7 separate regions of the Homo sapiens genome follow, and all the other regions are linked to region 5. The links are contacts of gene promoters, found by promoter capture Hi-C in blood cells and fetal thymus (Javierre and others, 2016). All regions are on one chromosome and are shown on one strand. Each heading gives the region's core, a stretch centred on a gene start or on the middle of the fragment in contact. The rest is flanking DNA. Distances are from core to core; before and after follow the strand shown.

Evidence for each region. The method cuts DNA at HindIII sites, captures the fragments that hold promoters and counts their contacts. A CHiCAGO score of 5 or more calls a contact.
Region 1: a fragment that was not itself captured here is called in contact with the fragment with the promoter of MAGEL2 in region 5 in 1 of 17 cell types (M0 macrophages); the score reaches 7.7 in M0 macrophages.
Region 2: a fragment that was not itself captured here is called in contact with the fragment with the promoter of MAGEL2 in region 5 in 2 of 17 cell types (M2 macrophages and naive B cells); the score reaches 9.6 in M2 macrophages.
Region 3: a fragment that was not itself captured here is called in contact with the fragment with the promoter of MAGEL2 in region 5 in 1 of 17 cell types (M0 macrophages); the score reaches 9.9 in M0 macrophages.
Region 4: a contact is called between a fragment that was not itself captured here and the fragment with the promoter of MAGEL2 in region 5, in 4 of 17 cell types (M1 macrophages, M0 macrophages, monocytes and 1 more). The highest score is 7.8, in M1 macrophages.
Region 6: a fragment that was not itself captured here is called in contact with the fragment with the promoter of MAGEL2 in region 5 in 5 of 17 cell types (M0 macrophages, M1 macrophages, M2 macrophages and 2 more); the score reaches 20.0 in M0 macrophages.
Region 7: a contact is called between a fragment that was not itself captured here and the fragment with the promoter of MAGEL2 in region 5, in 15 of 17 cell types (M1 macrophages, M0 macrophages, M2 macrophages and 12 more). The highest score is 35.9, in M1 macrophages.

The regions. Positions count from the first base shown.
Region 1 is chr15:26,187,055-26,189,754 of GRCh38, forward strand. No RefSeq gene overlaps it. Among named protein-coding and RNA genes, the nearest start is that of LINC00929, 73 kb to the left of the region's middle. The HindIII fragment of the contact is 1,382 bases long and covers 641-2,022 here.
Region 2 is chr15:26,276,666-26,279,365 of GRCh38, forward strand. No RefSeq gene overlaps it. Among named protein-coding and RNA genes, the nearest start is that of LINC02248, 120 kb to the right of the region's middle. The HindIII fragment of the contact is 2,407 bases long and covers 123-2,529 here.
Region 3 is chr15:26,170,030-26,172,729 of GRCh38, forward strand. No RefSeq gene overlaps it. Among named protein-coding and RNA genes, the nearest start is that of LINC00929, 56 kb to the left of the region's middle. The HindIII fragment of the contact is 2,198 bases long and covers 170-2,367 here.
Region 4 is chr15:25,717,670-25,720,369 of GRCh38, forward strand. ATP10A (ATPase phospholipid transporting 10A (putative)) reads right to left here. Exons shown (of 21, transcript NM_024490.4): 8 at 513-730. Among named protein-coding and RNA genes, the nearest start is that of MIR4715, 130 kb to the right of the region's middle. The HindIII fragment of the contact is 2,094 bases long and covers 375-2,468 here.
Region 5 is chr15:23,646,429-23,649,128 of GRCh38, forward strand. It overlaps MAGEL2 (MAGE family member L2), which reads right to left and starts at 1,439. Exons shown (of 1, transcript NM_019066.5): 1 at 1-1,439. The coding sequence starts at 1,314. RefSeq lists an enhancer at 1-726. The HindIII fragment of the contact is 5,160 bases long and covers 1-2,579 here.
Region 6 is chr15:25,938,980-25,941,679 of GRCh38, forward strand. The region is part of intron 1 of LINC02346 (long intergenic non-protein coding RNA 2346); the gene reads left to right. Among named protein-coding and RNA genes, the nearest start is that of LINC02346, 38 kb to the left of the region's middle. The HindIII fragment of the contact is 2,377 bases long and covers 149-2,525 here.
Region 7 is chr15:26,258,002-26,260,701 of GRCh38, forward strand. No RefSeq gene overlaps it. Among named protein-coding and RNA genes, the nearest start is that of LINC02248, 140 kb to the right of the region's middle. RefSeq lists an enhancer at 2,367-2,700. The HindIII fragment of the contact is 3,403 bases long and covers 1-2,700 here.

The DNA.
Region 1 (2,700 bases), core at 82-2,581, 2.5 Mb after region 5:
GACTCACCACACCCTGGAATAAAGTTTTTAAAAGTTTAAAATTTTAGAAATAACATGGAGTTTTTGATATAAGTCAGGCATTATTCTGAACATGTTACATATATTTTATCTTCAGGGTAATCTTTTGAGTTATCACAAAGATCTTTTTATCGCTGTAGTTTTTCTGAGAAGAAAATCAAGTTCCAGTGAGGCAGAGTAATCGTACAGTAAAAGGTTAACTCAGCAGGCTTTGGTGCTCAAACCTTACACTATTCCAGACAAAGGACTGGCTGTTGAAGGGCTCCTGCATGATGACGTCTGAGGCCTGATAGAAATGTTTGTGTGACGGAGGTTTGGGCCATGCTATACCAGCTTGCTCAGATAGTTTGTGCTATCAGTGTGACTTATGATGCTCCCTTGTTGTACGCTTGGGGCTTTGGGCCGTGCTCTATCAGCTGGACCTTGGTGGGGCTGGAGAGTCAGTAGCTAAGGTCAGCTATCAAGACACTGCCTGCCTACATGACGAACCCCCAGTAAAAACCCTGGACACCAAAGGCCCAGGCGAGCTTCCCTGGATGGCAACACCTCGCAGGTGTGTCACACACCATTCCTAGGGCATTAAGCACTTGTCATGCAACTCCACTGGGGGTAGACAACTTGAAGCTTGTGTCTTTTTTTTCTCTCAGACCTTTCCCTGTGTGCCTTTTCTCTTTGCTGATTTTAATCTGTGTCCTTTCACAGTCACAAACTATAACTCTCCTGAGTCCTGTGAGTCCTTCCAGTAAATCATCAAATCTGAGAGTTGTCATGGGAACCACAGACACATCAACCCAAGGTCCCATAGTGGGGAAAGAAGATCTGCCTTTCTACATAAACAGAAACTTCTCAAAAGAAGACATTTATGTGGCCAACAAACATATGAAAGAAAGGTCAACATCACTGATCATTAGAGAAATGCAAATCAAAACCACCATGAGATACCATCTCATGCCAGTCAGAATGGCAATTATTAAAAAGTCAAGAAACAACAGATGCTGGCGAGGCTGTGGAGAAACAGGAACACTTTTATACTGTCAGTGTGGTGATTCCTCAAAGATCTGGAACCAGAAATATCATTTGACCCAGCAATCCCATTACTGGGTATACACCCAAAGGAATATAAATCATTCTAGTATAAAGATACATGCACATGTATGTTTATTGCAGCACTATTCATAATAGCAAAGACATGGAACCAACCCAAATGCCCATCAATGATAGACTACATAAAGAAAATGTGGCACATATACACCATGGAATACTATGCAGTCAAAAAGGAATGAGATCATGTCTTCTGAAGGGACAAGGATAAAGCTGGAAACCATCTCAGCAAAATAACACAGGAACAAAAAAACCAAACACCGCATATTCTCACTCATAAGTGGGAGCTGAACAATGAGGACACATGGACACAGGGAGGGGAACAACACATATCAGAGCCTGTCGGTTGTGGGGGCTAGTGGAGGGAGAGCATTAGGAAAAATAGCTAATGAATGCGGGGCTTAGTACCTCGGTGACAGGTTGATAGGTGCAGCAAACAACCATGGCACACATTTAGCTGTGTAACAAACCTGCATGTTCTGCAGGGTTTTCTAAAAGTAAAATTAAAAAAAAAAAAAAAATGAAGAAGAAGATCTGCCTTTCACCAAAGCCCCTGATTTAAACTACCCCCAAGATGCTCACTTCTCAAATTACATGGGCTCGGGGTGTAATCATTGGATTATTAGGTTTGCCTTTGCTTCTGTCAGATGTGCTTACATATGACAGTCAGGCCAAAGTCACTGGCTTCGTATAAACAAATCTTCTTTTTCCACAATGATTTCTCAAATCCTCATTATTCTTGCTAGCAGATATCTTTTTCACTTGAAAGATGAAAAGATCTTTCCTAATCTGTAAGAAAAACAAATCCAAACACAACCACTTTTTATAAATTTTGGGGAGGAAGACATACTGCTGACAATATTACAAGAAGGCTTTGAGTTGCCAGGAAAATATCAGGCTTGAAGCTTGTGACAGAGAGGAGGAGAATTGTGTCTAAGTCTTAAGCTTTATGCCATAGATCCCCCAATTACACTAGAAATTGACTAGAAGGCAGTTCATTATTACAGTAATTTGGATAGTAAATGCATCATCAAATTTTTCATTTAGAAAAGATCATGATGATTATTTTTAAAAATTACCCCTTGTATAATGTAAGCCTGAGAAAGTTTACAAAGTACTAATAAGGCCTACCTTTTGGCTCTTGGAAGCATCTTGTCATCGGTCCATATTTGGAAACAGCTGTCACTCATGTGCTCCTGCCACCACCCCCAGGAGCCCAAGGGTCCCTGTCACTATGTGTCCCTCTTCGTTTCTTCCTGTGTTTCCCAAACTAGAGCTCAGAACAAAGCAGGCACAGCTCTGGGCCTGAAAACTTCTGTCTGACTCGACCTTTTCCCTGTGGACCTCTCTGGGGACTTTGTTCTTCTCAGACATCAATTCCAGAAGGATCGTTGGGCTATTAGAATTAATTAATATAATTTTATAATTAACTTTTATAATATTAAGCTCTTAATTATCCTGTAAGCAGCAATTACAGAACCCATGGTTCTTCTGCCACCACCTCCGTGACTTATATGTGGAAATCAGCGTTTTCACAGGAAGTTCTGCTACTTTATGGAGAACCCACTGTCCGTGAGGTGG
Region 2 (2,700 bases), core at 76-2,575, 2.6 Mb after region 5:
TTGGGAGGATCCTTTGAGCCCAAGAGCTCAAGGCTGCAGTGAGCCATGATCACGCCTTTGCACTCCAGCCTGGGCCACAGAGTGAGACCCTGTCTTAAAAAAAAAAAAAAAAAAAAAGAATAAGCTTGCCAATGTAAAGGAAAGTGCATGTCCTGGAAGGTGTGAGTAGACGCAGGAAGGAGAGGTAGAGGAGGGAGGGCTCATGCTGTCATCTGAAAGAGAGAGGAGTCCTCAGGAGTTCTAAAATTATATATATATAATATAATTATATAATATATATGTCTATATATAGGCCTATATAGGCCATATATATATGCCTATATATATAAAATAGGCATATGGCCTATATAGGCCTATTATATATATAGGCATATATATATATATATATATAGATATATAGATATATAGATATATATATATGGAATATATGATTGTCATAGAGTGCCCACCCAGGGTTGGACATTTATTTGACAGAGAAATCATCTTGTATTTGTTTAAATACTTTGTTTAATACTTTGTTTTCTCTATCACTTATATACTCTGCAGTTCTCTTGGCTCATCTCATGGGATGTGAACATCATAGAACATCATGCTGGCAACAGTTTTAACGTTTATAGATATGCAATTTCGGTTGCATCTATATATAAGCCAACAGCTTTAACTGGGTCTCAATCCATTTACCAATGCTAGAAGAAATCTTGTTTTTGCATTCATTGAAGAACCGATGTCATTCTCCAGTATGACAACTGAGTATTTCAAGTCCCGCTTCTTGAGCTTCTTGGACTCCTTCACCCCTGCGTAAGATGGGATTTGAGATGGAAGACTGGCATATGCCATGTCTTCCTTCTCTCTGCGTGATACTGATTTGTAAATTCACCTGCTTTTAATCAGTCTGTAATCTTGGGTGTCAGTGCCTCAGAGCTGCTCCTCCTGCATGTATAGACTGCAAAACAGTGGTAGGGAAGGAGCATTGCCAGGCAAAAGCCTCAGAAAAAAGAAAATAAAAACTCCACGACAAGCACCTTGTTTCTTCCAGATAGTGATATGAATTATAATAATGCCCTGGTAGTTAAAGCTACCATTTCAAGAAATTGCCAGTTCTTGGTCATCTAAGCACTTTGTTAACTCAGTTTTAAATAGGTTTATTGAGATATAATTTTCATACACAAAAGTTCATTCATTTAGAGTATACTATTCAATTTTTTTTTTTTTTTTTTTTTTGGAGGGAGTCTTGCTCAGTCACCCAGGCTGTAGTGCAGTAGAGTGATCTCGGCTCCCTGCAACCTCTGCCTCCCGGGCTCAAATGTTTCTCATGCATCGGCCTCCCAAGTAGCTGGATTACAGGCATGTGCCACCACACCCAGCTAATTTTTTTTTTTTTTTTTTTTTTAGTGGAGATGGGGTTTCACCATGTTGGCCAGGCTAGTCTCAAACTCCTGACCTCAAGGGATCCACCCACTTTGGCCTCCCGAAGTACTGGAATTATAGGTGTAAGCTACCAGGCCCGACCTACAATTCAATATTTTTAGCATATTTACAAAAATTGTGCAACCATTACTATAAACTACTTTTAGAACATTTGATCATTCCAAAAAGAAACCCTGTATCCATTAGTAGTCATTCCCCCTTCTCCCCTTCCTCCAGCCCTGGAAACCACTAGTTACTTTTTCTCTATATAGATTTTAAATTCTGGACATTTTATGTAACTGGGATCACACTATATGTGAACTTTTGTGCACGGCTTCTGACCCCTAGAATAATGTTTTGAAGTTCAACCATATTGTAGCATTTATCAGTACTTCATTCTTTTCAATGGCTAAAAAATATTCCATGATAAGGACATACCACATTTTGTTTTTCCATTCCTCAGTTGATGGACATTTGGGTTGTTTCTACTTTTTGGCTATTATTAATAATACTGCTATGAAAATTGAGGTACCAGTTTTAATGTGTACATATGTTTTTAATTCTCTTGACTATATTGCTAGGCCAAATAATGAGTCTATGTTTAGCTTTGGAGGAGCTGTCAAACTATTTCCACAGTCACCACAAAGGTTAATGTCCCACCAACAATGTGTGAGGTTTCCATTTTCTCCACATCCTTGTCAACAATCGCTATTGCCTGTCTTTTTAATTTATCTTAGTAAGTGTGAAGTGGCATCTCACTGTGATTTTGATTTTTTTTATGTCAATAGTTTTTGAGGAACAGGTGTTGTTTGGTTACATGGATAAGTTTTTTATGGTGATTTCTGGGATTTTGGTGCATCTGTCACCCGAGAAGTGTACACTGGACCCAATGTGTAGTCTTTTAACCCTCCTCCACTTCCCACCCCTCCCCACGAATCCCCAGAATCCATTATATAATTGTTATGCCTTTGCGTTCTCATAGCTTAGCTCCCACTTATAAGTGAGAACATATAATGTTTGGTTTTCCATTCCTGAGTTACTTCACTTAGAATAATGGTATCCAACTCCATCCAGGTTGCTGTGAATGCCATTATTTCCTTCCTTATTATAGCTGAGTAATGAAGCTTTTTAGTTTCGTTAAGTTCCATCTATTTATCTTTGTTTTTGTTGCATCTATCTATCTGTCTATCTGTCTGCCTGCCTATCTATCTATCTATCTATCTATCACATTTTCTTTATCCACTCATTGGTTGATGGGCATTTACGCTGGTTCCATATTTTTGCAGTTGCAAA
Region 3 (2,700 bases), core at 19-2,518, 2.5 Mb after region 5:
CATCGCTCTCTCCTCTCACGTCTTCCTCTCCTCTTGTTTCCTGTCGTTTACTGTATTCCCCTTAAGGAAACCAATTTTTCACTTTTTTTCAGCTCTCTGCTGTTTACTGAAACTAACTTTTGCTTCCACTTTTATGCCTCATTTAAAAATTTAAATTTTCCCCTTTTAAAGCTTGCATGTAAATTGGTAAAAAAAAAAAAAAAAAAAAAAAATGCCCCCAAACTCTGCCACTGCCAGACAGATAAATCTGATTATATAACAATGTTAGAATTATGTCTGACTTCATAAGTCTGTGTGTAGGAAATAAATGGGGACCGGAGGGAGAAACTATTTCTAACTGTAGTCGCTTCATCCAAGAAAATTAATAAAAATGGTTATTAATTTGGAAACTTGGACCCTGAAGAAAAGATGGTAGTGATGTCTTATTAGAGAAAATGATTTGCTATTGCCATTATTCATGGGCAGCTAAAGCATGAATTTGGCATGCCTTTGTAAGCCTGCATCAATAAAATCAACAGCACTTCACATAGCATAAGTTTAGTTTTGTATTCATTCCACCTAATAATACTTTATCCCTTCTATTTTTATTGGTTCATTTGAGTCTCCCCATGCTTTGCTCTCATTAAAGTACATTAGTGACTATGGCGATGAGAGTGTAAGGGATGTGGAAGGAACACAGGATATAAATGAGACCATTTACACGCCAGGTGAGCTCTAGAGCACAGGACATGAAATAATGAAACCAGTGATTTCTACAGATTCCTCTGGAAATGATGGGGCCATTTCATTTCATTATCCGATACATAAATTTAAATGAGATCATTGTTATTATTCAGCACTCTCATTGCATGAAGGGCTATCTCTGAATGTTTTACATTTTATTGTGAAACCTTAGTCGGATGCTGCATCTTCATTGTAACCCACCATTATCTTTCTGATGATGCTCTGAGAGATTATCCTTATGGCTGAGATTTATGTGGTTCACTCAAGCAAATGCTAAATACTTGCAAGTCAAAGATTTTCATACGGATTTTATGGTGTAGAAAATGTTAGCTTCATAGTCATTGTTGCAGTTGTGGTTGTAAGGAAGTTTAAATTTTTCCCCTGAAAATTCGATCATTTGAGTCTATAAAACAAACTGATAATAGACAGGTTAATAGGAAGAAAGGCATACAAATTTATTAACATGCACATGTGTGCATGGGAAGCATAAAAAGTATAGAAACATAAAGAAAGACAAGATGGTTGTCACTTAAACATCCTCTTCATTGGGGAGAGGGAATATGGGGGCTTATAGGAGTGAATATTTTCAGGGAAAATGAAAGAGCTAAAGAACAATGTCATGGGACCAAGTTTCCCTGGGCTCTGGGGGAGGTGGCATCACAGGTTATCGGAGGATGAAGGGAGGAAAGCCTAGCAAACCAAAGCTATCTTGTTATGCAGATGAAGTGTCTCAGGTAATGTCAGAGCTGCCCTGGGAGAGAATGGAGGGTTACCTGAGTTGGAGTTAATCTTTCCTAGATTTGGACAAGGGGTGGCATGCAGAGAAAGCCTGGCTGGTTGTTTCACCACACACGTTTTTTTGAATAACCATTTCGAAAGATGTCAAAGTAGGATGTTTTGGAGTGAAATATTTTTGGTTATCTTTAAGGTTCACAGTTCAGTGGTGAATTCAGCAGAAATAATCTACTTTAGGTAATGGTGAAGCATTACGGGTGGTGAGATCAGACTTCGCTTCTGTGTAAAGAAAACCCCATTATCCAGCCCGTTGCTTGCCACTGTGAGTCGCTGGGAAGGACCAATTCAGAGAAAAGGCAAACCGTGCTCTTACAGATCAAGTATCCCTCCCTGTCTCTTCCACCATCACTGCCATGACGGATCATGCACATAGCAGCCAAATCCAGGACTGAGGATGGGAATGAGCATGACCAAAGATTGTTTCCGTTTTTCACAGCCAAGCAACTGCTTCCCATCAACACACTCAAACTGAGCCCTGCATACCATTGTGAGCCTCGGGAAGCTAAGGATGGTGCATTTTTTTTCAGTTATGTTCAATTTCCCCATTCTGGACTTTACCCTTCATCTGCTTATCTCCCTCTTAGTGTAGCCCAATCCAAGCTCCTACAGTACACTGTGCAGCAGCCAATAAGTACAGAAACAAGGTGCTGGGGCAAGAAAGGTAACTTTATTCATAGAGCAGCGAAGCAAGGAGATGGCAGACTAGTGTCCTAAAGAACCATCTCAAGTTAATAGAATTTTAGGCTCCTTTTACGTTAGTAGAAGGCAGAAGAGGGAGGGGATTGAGACCAAGAGGGGACCAATAACCACAGACATCTGGGTAGCAGCAAGGGTCCGAGGAGGTTGTAAAGCTTCTTTATTCTTGGTCAGTTGACTTCAGATAATGTCAGTCAGGTCACCGTGTTCCTATAAATCTTTGGCATCATTAATTGTGTACATATTTTCTTATGTCCTCAGGGGGTTAATGTTGGAAAAAAGACTATTACTATCTTTTCTTTAAAAAGTTAAACTATAAACTAAATTCTTCCCATAGTTACCTTAATATACATGTAGAGATAAGTAAAAGCAATGAACCTAAAAGACATCACTGCGTGCAGGGGGGTTAGGAGAAAAAGTTACTCACGCTAGGCCTCCTTTTCATTGTTACAATAGCTTTACCTGCCTACGGATGGTTTTTTTTTT
Region 4 (2,700 bases), core at 172-2,671, 2.1 Mb after region 5:
TTCATCCCCTCTGCTGCATTGGTAAAACATTTCAGAAGTGAAAGGCTCTTTCAGAGGTTATTGCTCACTTCTCGCCTCTCCGTGCTGGATGATGGTGGTCCATTAATGTCTGGGCGGCTGACAAGGCCAGGCAGAAAGTATTTTATGGATTTGGGCTCGTCTAATTAAAACTCCCTTGGGAGGGGTTGGCTTTGCTTTTTAGCGGTTGTCATCTTGTCCTGAGGTTTTATTTGCTTCATTTGGCAGCACGGGCTTCCTCTTTGTCACCCTTTCTGGGTGACTTGCCAGCAATCAACCAGCCTTAGAAGCCATGCAAAGGGGCCATGTCAGTGTCTTGGAAAAGACGACAGTGGAGAGAAAGTGTTGGCCAGAAAAGCTTCTGCTGAGTAGAGCCAAGCCGCCCAGCGACAGTGTATTTGTAGGATTAAATATAGACACCTTCCATGAGCGGGGGATGGTGAAAATGGGGAAGAGACGTGGCAGCACCCTAGCAGGAGGCCCTGTACACTCACCATGGGGCTGCTGAAGGCCGTGTGCTTGGACAGCATGCTGGCCCTCTTGGCCTCGGCCCGGCTGCCCGTGCGCCGGTGGGACTTGGTGCTCTGGGTTCTGTGCACCACCCGGACACTCTGGTGGCTGCCGATGCTGCCGCGCTGGGACACCGAGCCCCCTCTGGGCACCACCTCCTCCTCCTCCGAGTCTGCCTCTTGGTACCTGGCCAGACGCTGCGCTGCGGGGAGAGGGCGCAGGGTGAGGCATCATGGGGGAAGGCTGGGCGGAGCAGAAAGAAACCATTCAGTGTGTTTTAGGTTCCGCGAGGCTTCCGGCAGGGCAGCCCCACAGGATTCACCACCCTTGCTCTCTAATAGCAAGGCACGGAGAACATCCTCAGTCAGCTGCAACCTGGGGAGGTTGATATTCTCAACTCTGTTTCACAGAGACTGACTTTCATCTCAGAGAACGTAAGGAGCTTTCTAAGGTCGCACAACTTAGGGGAAGGGGAACGGGTTGACGTCCAGCCGGTCTCTTCAGGTAGAGCCTAGGTGTACATGGGGTAGGGTGGCAGGTGGCCGGGAGAGGGAGGCAGGACAGAGGGTGGCAGGCCTTCCAGTCATGCTGGGATGACGGTGCTCACCTGGTGCTGAGCTCCTTGCCCACATGGACGGTGGCCACCATCTGCTCCTGTCTGGATGAAATGCTATGGCACAGGGGGGCTCACACTCCCAGATTGCACAGCTTGGACCCCTACAGCTAGGGTTTGGACTCAGCTTTGAAACTCCATCCAAGATGATCTTGACTGTGATGTTGCCCTGCTGAGCAAATTCCCCATGACCTGGTGAACGCTGGGCAAATCCCCTTTAGAGGTGCCTGCGCTGTGGCTTCTTGCTAACCCATGGCTCTGAACCAGTTTTCTGGGTTTTGCCCAGGGAGGACAGCTTGTTTCACCGTGGATGAGCAAAATGGAGACCATTCATGAGGATTACTTATCAGAACAACCGTTTAATCAGAACTTCAAGCACAGGCATGGTGCTGAGTCAAAGCAGCAGGGGCCTGTCAAGAGGCCGGAGAAGGAGATACTTATGGAGCCGGCCAGCCGCGTGGACCACTGCGCATCTCTTAATAGACCCTCTGTGAGAGATGAGAAAAATGGGGATAAAAAAGGGGAAGTCACCTGCCCACCATCACAAGGCTGAGTACTTGCCAATGCCAGGATTCCAACTCAGGGAGATCCTAATTCCAGGAGCAGATGCCCCGCAAATGCCTCCCCAGCTCTCGGGTGGCATCAGCCCAGTGCACCGGAAGCAAGGACGCACAGAACCTGGACACATGACTCTGTCCAGCATGAGGTGAGGGGCTGGGCTTCAGCTGCCAAGAAAGTGGACTGGCCCATCCCACCCTCCCCCAGCAGTGGTCCCGCACATCCGGAGCTCCATGGAGCCATCCTTCAGGGCCCCCTCCTTCCCTCAGAGGCTGTGGGGGCCACGGCTGGTATGTTGGTGTTCTGAAGCAGTTTCTGATCGGCAGTGGCCCCTGGGATGCCTTCCATGTCCCCAGGAAAGATGAGGCCCAGGAGCAGGTAATGCCCCCTCCTGGGCATGCACAGCCAGCTAGCTCCAGGTCATCTTGCCAAGCTGTCAGAGGGGGCACACCCAAGGCTTCCACAGCCGGTTCTGGTACGTGAGCAGGGCTTGGGGCTCAGAGTCCATCTGAACTCCTTTATGAGTGACATCTGGAGAGGTCAGATCATAAGATAACTGGCTGATGACGCTCCTTGCCTGGGTGCCTGTCAATAGCTAGCTGATCCAGGCACTTCTCTAAAACACGCTGCTGAGATGTATGTGGTTTCATTCATCACCAGGAAGCTCCCTGTGTCTTGAGGCAAGGAAACCCTCTGGTTTTATGGTAGCATTTGGCAACTGTCAGAATCTTTCTGTAATCTTAGTTGGGATCCTGCCCCTGGGAGCCTAAGCTTCCAACTTTATTATTATCTTTTAAATGTATTATTATTATTAATGGATAAATCAGTACTGTATACATTCATGGGGTGCAATGTGATGTTCTGATGTATGTGTACAATGTGGCATGATTAAATCATGCTAATTAACAAATCTGTCACTTTGCTTGCCTATCATGTTTTTATGATGAGACAGTTAAAATTTACTCTCTGAGTCGTTTTGAAATGTGTAATACATTTTTATT
Region 5 (2,700 bases), core at 189-2,688:
GCGGATCAGCGGTGGGGCCTGTCGCACCGGTGGTGGGCCAGGGCGGATGGGTGGTGGGCCAGGGCGGATGGGCGGGGGCCCCTGGCGCATGGGCGGCGGCACCTGCCAGGTAACGGCTGGTGCCTGCCAGGTGACCTGCGTGGTCTGCCAAGTCAGGGGAGTGGCCTGCCAGCCTTGCTGCGTGGCCTGCCATCCTGGCGAGGTCGCCTGCCAGCCCGGGGGTGTGGCTAGCTGCGCTGGGGGTGCCTGCGGGCCCTGGGGAACCTGCGGAGGAGCCCTTATAACTTGAGACTGGATTTGCAGGATCAGAGGCTGAGCCTGCGGGGCCCAAGAAGCCATCGGCTGTGCAGGTGGGGCCATCGGCTGTGCAGGTGGGGCCGCCGGCTGTGCCATCGGTGCTCCTGAAGCTGGAGGCTGGGTCATCGGAGCTCTCGCACCTGGAGGATGAATCATCAGGACTCCTGGACCTGGAGGCTTGGCCATCGGTGCTCCTGAAGGCTGAGGCTGGGTCATCATGGCTGCTGGAGGCGGCTGGACCATCGGTGCTCCCGGAGCAGCAGGCTGGACCATCAGGACTCCCGGAGTCAGAGGCTGGGCCATCAGGACTCCCGGAGCTGGAGGCTGGGCCATCGGTGTACCCGGAGGGGGAGGATGAGCCATCGGTGTCCCCGGAGGTGGAGGATGAGCCATCGGTGTCCCCGGAGGGGGAGGATGAGCCATCGGTGTCCCCGGAGGGGGAGGATGAGCCATCGGGGTCCCCGGAGGAGGAGGATGCACCATCGGGGTCCCCGGAGGAGGAGGATGGGCCATCGGGGTCCCCGGAGGAGGAGGATGGGCCATTGGGGTCCCCGGAGGGGGAGGGTGGGACATTGGGGTCCCCGGAGGAGGAGGATGGGCCATGGGAGCTCCGGGAGCTGAAGGATGCACCATCAGGACTCCCGGGGTCGGAGGCTGGGCCATCGGGGCTCCCGGAGGTGGAGGATGCACCATCAGGACCCCGGGAGTCGGAGGCTTACCCATCGGGCCCCCCAGCGGGGGAGCCGGGACTATCGGGCCCCCTAGGGCAGGAGGCTGGGTCATCGGAACCACCGGGGCGGGCAGCTGGCCCTGTGGGGCCTCCCAGGCAGGCTGAGGTGCCTGCCAAGCGGCCAATGAAGCCTGCAAGTCAATTGGAGGTGGATCCCAAGGGACTGGCGGAGCCCGGGAGGAAGCGGGCGGGGCCCGCATCAGAACCGTAGGGCGGCTATAGACAGGCGGCTTCGGGGCCTCCGCCGGAGGACTCGAGTCACCCAGATTCTTACTTAGCTGCGACATGTCCCTTTGCTGACAGCTGGTGGGTCTTTTCCTCGGACAGCTGCTGGGCCTTTTCCTCCAGAGAGAAGAGAATGCCTACGTGGCTGTTCAGAGGCTCCCTCCCTGCTGAATGCTGAATAGGAAGTGAGTGCTGCTCGCTCCGCAGCTTTCCGCAGTAAGGAGGAGGGGGGAAGGGGGCTCAATCCCGCCCCTTCCCCGCCCCCGACCACCACAAGTGGATATTGCATAGGGGCGTCTACCGGAGTCCTGGCTGACACAGGATCCCTTCTCACTCTGTCCAGTCCCCAAATGCAGACCAGTCAGACTCCACATGGATGACTTTTCACAGGGGAGTGACAGGAACCCATCCATGTTTTAGAAAAATCACTGTACTGCAGTGTGGAGTGGGAGCAGACCACTGGAAACATGGAAGGTATCCAAGACGGCGGGGGGAGATGGTGTGGTCTGGGCTAAGATGTGAGGCGGAGAATGAAAAAAGCGCATTTACATAAGAGAGTTCCAGGAGTTATAGCAGACAGATACCTGTATTATAATTGAATAAAGGAGTCAAAGACATGGAAAAGGCACACAAGTCCCTGCCTGGAGAAAGTGGGAAGTTGCAGGGACTGTTACTCTCTTAGGGTCCCAGGAGAGGCACACGGGAAGAGAGGCTGATGAGTATTGGCAGACACAGGGCATTTGCGGTGCTGTGGGACTGCCAAGGAGAGATACCCTGTAGGCACTCCTGTATGATGTCTTGGGAGTCCTGCTTGGCTATTCCTCATGAAAATAGAGTTGTGGGAGGGAATGTGGTTGCACTGGGTCTTGAAGAACACAGGCATGTTAGAGACACATGGAGAAAAGGGACAGCAGCGAGTAGAGAGAGAGGAAAAGAAGTCACGGAACTGAGACATGCCACACATCAGTGGAAGACAGCATTTTTAGTATGGGAAAACTGCCTGTGGAATGGCTCGGATGCAGGAACAGAGTAGGTTTCTCAGTATTTTTCATCTGCAGAATGGGAAAGAAATTTAAAAAATGAAAACCAAATAACGCACCTGAAGATAACAAAATGGGTATATAAATAGATCAAAAATTGATATATTTGGATATATAGGAAAAACAGGCAAAGAATAAAAAAATTTCTGGGGAAACTTCTCGTGACAAAAATCAGTTTAAATATGAGACAAATCAAGTATTAACAGATAAAGCAGATGACAATAGTATTATTGGGCAATGCTATACAACTTTATGGTGAGAGGAAGTGATAATCTCAGTAATTGAAAAGCTTTCTGGAAATATACAAAGCACTAAATATCAAGGATGTTTCGTTTAAATAGGCTGTTGGCAGCCTACGGCAGGAGTCCAGAGTGACAAAACGTGCCACCAGGGGGCAGATGAGGACGA
Region 6 (2,700 bases), core at 87-2,586, 2.3 Mb after region 5:
GGTCCCTCAGCTTCCATGGCAAAGCTGCCTCTGCTCCAGCCTTAGCCCTGCCCCCCCGCCGCCCCCCCCCCCCGACCCCAGTTTGGATACCTGAAGCCTACCCCAGGCGATTGAACACAAAGCATTTCACTAACTTTCACAGCCTGTAAGCTTCACCAGCTGAGCAGAAGCTGCGGTTGGGCTGGGTGCATGACCTGCAGCCCTGGAAGTGAGGGCTCAGAGAGTCCCCTCAGTCACAGCTGCATGAAGCCCAGATGCTTCTCATTATGTTTCTGTCCAAGCTGCCTGGCCAGGAGGTTTGACCCAGCCCTTGGTTTGTACTTCCTGCACGGTGGCATCCAAGCGTGTTTTTTAAAAAAACACATATGTAAAAATGGTTAACCATACTCAACCTCTTCTGTCTCTGAGGAACAAGCAGTTTCTGTTGCATGTTCTAGATACTTGCTACCCAAAACAAGGCCCACAGGCCAGTGTCCTTAGCATCACCTGGGAGCTGGTTAAGAAAGTGCAATCTCAGGCCTCACCCCAGGCGCTGAAACAGAACCTGCATTTTCACAAGGGCCTTGGGTGTTTCGTGTTCAAATAATAAAGACTGACACCCCGGGACAGAAACAGTGGGGTGGGGCGGAAGGAGGGACAGGGGCAGTGGGGGTTAGATGGGGTGGGGGTGGGGGCTGTGCACCATTCTAAGTGCTTCCCAGGACTAATATATTTACTTCTCACTGCAGCTTGAAGCAATGTTATCTTGCCCTCAGTACAAAGTGAGCCCCAGGAAGTAGAGGCTCACCGCGGGTTTGGGCTAGGATAGGGTGCACCCACCATGTGGCCCAGGCCCTCACACCCACCTGGCTCCAGAGCATGGGGCCCGCTCCCCATTCTCCAGGCCTGGACCCTCTGTGCACCAACACCCGACTCATGAAAGAGCCAATAGGCTTCAACATACTATCTGTGGGACGTGTTTACTAAGCTGTGAAATTCCAGACACATATTCTCATGACTATTCTAATCCCTCCCATTACATGCAGTATGTGATGCGGAGGATGACGATGATATTTACTCCAAGATCATGGTTTTCTAGCATTCCTGGAAGCAGGACTGTGTCATTTTGCCAATACTCTACTCTTAGAAATACTGTAAGTTTTCACGTGATTTGGGTACAATTTGTCACTCTGTCACCCAGGCTGGAGTGCCGAGGCACAATCACAGCTCACTGCAGCCTTGACTTCCTGGCAATCCTCCCACCTCAGCCCCCTGAGTAGCTGGGATCACAGGCACACACTACCAAGCCTGGCTAACTAAAAAAAAAAATTGTAGAGACAGGTTTTTACTATGTTGCCCAGGCTGATAAACTCCTGAGCTCAAGCAATCCTCCCACCTCAGCCTCCCAGAGTTTTAGTATTACAAGCATGAGCCACCACACCCCGCTTGGCATAATTTCTTGCCTTTCTGGTAGAGAAGAGATTTCTCCCAGCCCCAGAGGTACCCACTCTTCTTTCCCAAAATTTTCAGAATGGACAGCACAAGCCTAGTGGCTCGATCCTGGCTGACTCCTGGCTTTCTTCTCTGCAGCGTGACATGGAAATACCAAGACCTTTCTTGATCATTGCTTCAGAAAGAGCTGGAAAAATTGCTTTACTCTCCTTAAACTCGAGTTCATTTACTTTTTCAAAGAGCGTTGGAAGGTATCATTCATTATGTTTGTGTCAGGGATGATTGGAGAAATTCATTTCCTCTGTTAAAGCCATTATATTTAGACTCCCTCCCTCAAGGTGATTCTCTGTTTTGGATATATATACGTATATAGACTTTTTCATTTCTGAAGCTATTAGTAACACGTGTTCAATTACTGGTGTAGAAAATGGATCTTAGACTGCTCTCAGTTCTTCAACCTGCATGTGTGGTCTATTTGTGATCCTAGAATCGATTTTGTTTCAAACAGCATTAAAGAAGAAACAAAAGGAATAGAGTAGAAACTATTGGAATGCACCATGCATTAGGTTTGCTAGGGCTGCTGTAACAAAGTCCCATAGACTGGAGGGCTTACACAACAGAAATGGATTGTCTCACTGTTCTGAAGCCTGTAGATTCAACATCAAGGTGCCTGCAGGGTTGGTTCCTTCCGAGGCCTTCTCCCTGGCTTGTAGACAGCAAGATGCCTTCCCCCTGTGTCCTCTGATGGTCATTCCCCTGCATCTGTCTGTCCTCATCTCCACTTCTTATAAAGACACCAGTCCTACCGGATTAAGGCCCACCCATATGAGTTCATTTCAACTTACCTCTATGAAGACCCCCCTCTCCAAATGAGGGAACATGCTGAGGTCCTGGGGGTCGGGGCTTCAACATATGAATTTTGCAGGAGGGACATAATTCGGCCTATAGCACATCATATCAGGTATTTTTTGTGAAACTTTAGCTTCAAGTGCGTGGTCTGTGTGTGTGTGTATGCATGCGCACATGTATTGGGTTACAATTTTAAGTATATTTCCTATGATGTAGGTGTTGGTCAAAAATATCTGAAAAACACAAGCTTGATTTGATGGTAGGGTGTCCTGTCAAGTGTGTTTCTCTTTGGGATGATGCAGAGATCGTGGGATCTGGAAGCCAGCTGGGAAGGCTAGGAATGAACTGTGAGATGAGCTCTTCTTGCACGTCTTGCCCCGCTTTATTTAATTATTGTTTGTTTTCTCTAGTTTTGGGTAA
Region 7 (2,700 bases), core at 130-2,629, 2.6 Mb after region 5:
GATTTCTGGCCATGTCTACATTAGAGGCATATTATTATATTTTACTCAATATGCATGAAGTCAATGGATAGAAGGAAGTTGCAGAAAGGAGAGATGCCAAATTCACCTATTTATTAGAGTTGATTTTGTAATCAACACTGGGGGGAAGATTTTTCCATATATATATGTGTGTGTGTGTGTTTGTGTGTATAATCTTCCACTTTTTTTTTTTTTTTGAGATGGAGTCTCACTCTGTCACCCAGGCTGGAGTGCAGTGGTATGATCTCGGCTCACTGCAAGCTCCGCCTCCTGGGTTCATGCCATTCTCCTGCCTCAGCCTCCTGAGTAGCTGGGACTACAGGCGCCCACCACCACGCCTGGCTAATTTTTGGTATTTTTAGTAGAGATGGGGTTTCACCATGTTAGCCAGGATGGTCTCGATCTCCTGACCTCATGATCCGCCCATCTCGGCCTCACAAAGTGCTGGGAGTACAGGCGTGAGCCACCATGCCCAGCCTTCCACTTTTAAATTTAAGTCAATGGATTAATTCAACAAACACTAATTGAGCATCTACTCTGTGCCATGTGCATACTGGGGATGGTGCAAAACAATCAAGGCAGCAGAACTCCTTCTCCCAGAGCTTGCCCGATGCTTCACATCCTTGGAGCTGAGGGCTGCCTGAAGATTCTTGATCTGGTTGGGCATCTTCCCTGAGCAAGCCAGAGAGAGCTGAATTTATCCAACCTGTGCACATCATAAGTAGGGGAATCTCAAATTTGTTTCTTAATTAATTGATTAATTGTTTAATTGATACATTGTTATTGTACATATTTATGGGCTCTAATTTGATGTTCCAATACATATATACGTTGTATAAGGATTAAATCAGAGTATTTAGCATGTCCATCGCTTCATGCATTTGTCCTTTTTTTTTTTTTTTTTTTTTTTTTGAGACAGAGTCTCACTCCGTCACCAGGCTGGAGTGCTGTGGCGTGATCTCAGCTCACTGAAACCTCTGACTCCCTGGTTCAAACGATTCTCCTGCCTCAGCCTGCTGAGTAGCTGGGATTACAGGCATGTGCCACCACACCCAGCTAATTTTTGTGTTTTTAGTAGAGACGAGGTTTCACCGTGTTAGCCAGGATGGTCTCGATCTCCTGACCTCGTGATCCACCCACCTTGGCCTCCCAAAGTGCTGGGATTACAGGCGTGAGCCACGGCGCCCGGCCTGCATTTGTCATTTCTTGGTGGTGGGAACATTCAAAAGTCTCTCTTCAGCTATTTTGTAATCTATGGTATCTTACTGTTAATCATTCTCATCCAACTATGCAATAAGATACCAGAACTTCTTCCTCCTAACTGTAACTTTGTATCCATTTGTCAACCTCTCTCTGTCCTCCCCATCCCCCTTCCCAGTCACAGAAAGACAAATACTGCAGGATCTCACTTATATGTAGAATCTAAAAAAAAAAAAATTCTTAAAGTTGATATCCTAGAAGCAAAGAGTAGAACAATGGTGATCAAATTTCTGATCTATAACCTTGAACACTAGTACCATTCTGTTAAAGTACTTATTTCTAGTTTATCTAGTTTAGATTTTTAATTTGTTTTTGTTTTTGTCTTACTGTCAGTCACTACTTGCCTCACTTTTTACATTGAAATAGCCCCCTTGGGTAGTCATTAACTGCATATTTAGATGTGCCATGTCTGTTGGGTGTGAGCCTGCTGATCTGGTATTTTAAATTCTTAAATTTCATGCCAGACACGACAGACTTGAAGGGAAGCAAGTGATTACCATGGCATTCAAAGATAGAACTCTGAATGCCACCAGCAGAATGTCACCACTTGCAGTCATAGCTGAAAGCAATTGGGTAGAGCACATTTTTCTTCAGGATTTAAGAATGTAAAATATAACTGTATTTTTGATCTTTAAATTAAACCTGATGCATTCCAGGCATTAAAAACAACCACGACAACTCTATTTCTCAACCCCTCTAGAACAGGCTTTCACAAGATGGAACTAAGTCTCGGGTCTGTTGTGTGTTCATCTTGAGACCACCACTCCACTCTTTCCCTCAGGCCCAGTGGCGTGGCTTGAGACTGGATCCACAAAACGGATTAGAGATTGCAAAGTGAGCAGAGTGGTTAGCAGAAGGCAGGTTGTCATCATGGAGCTTCACCAGGACCAAGCTGGGGTCCAGAAACATCCTAGTACTGACTTGGTCATGATAGACAGTGCATCTAGACAAGCTCTGGCTCCCAGCGCCAGGCAGGATCCCAAGTGTTGGGCGAAGTCAATGGGGGGGCCCAGCCCCACTGTGTAGGCACCCAGAGGTGGTATCGCCCATGCAACATCTGGGACCCACTGATACCAAAGCGTTATTGCTACTTATCTTGAATTCAGATTCAATTGGGCATCCCATATTTTATCTGGCAACCCTATGAGAGGGCACTTCCCAGGAGCAGCAGAAGTGAGGTCCAGAAAAGCTGCCTGAGAGCATGCGTTCCACCACGGGCAGCAAGGGCAGTGGCCTCAGAGACCAACTGCTGCAGGAAGGGAAATGGTCCAAAGAGAAGGGGCCTCCTTGGCTGCCAAACGTGGTGGGCACAGAGAGAGCCTCTATTTGTCTTCCCTGAAACACGCAACTTCCCATAAGAAGGCCAGGAGGACCCCCTCCTCCTGAACACCAGAGCTGTCTTCAAGTGCAGTTCTTCTCTGG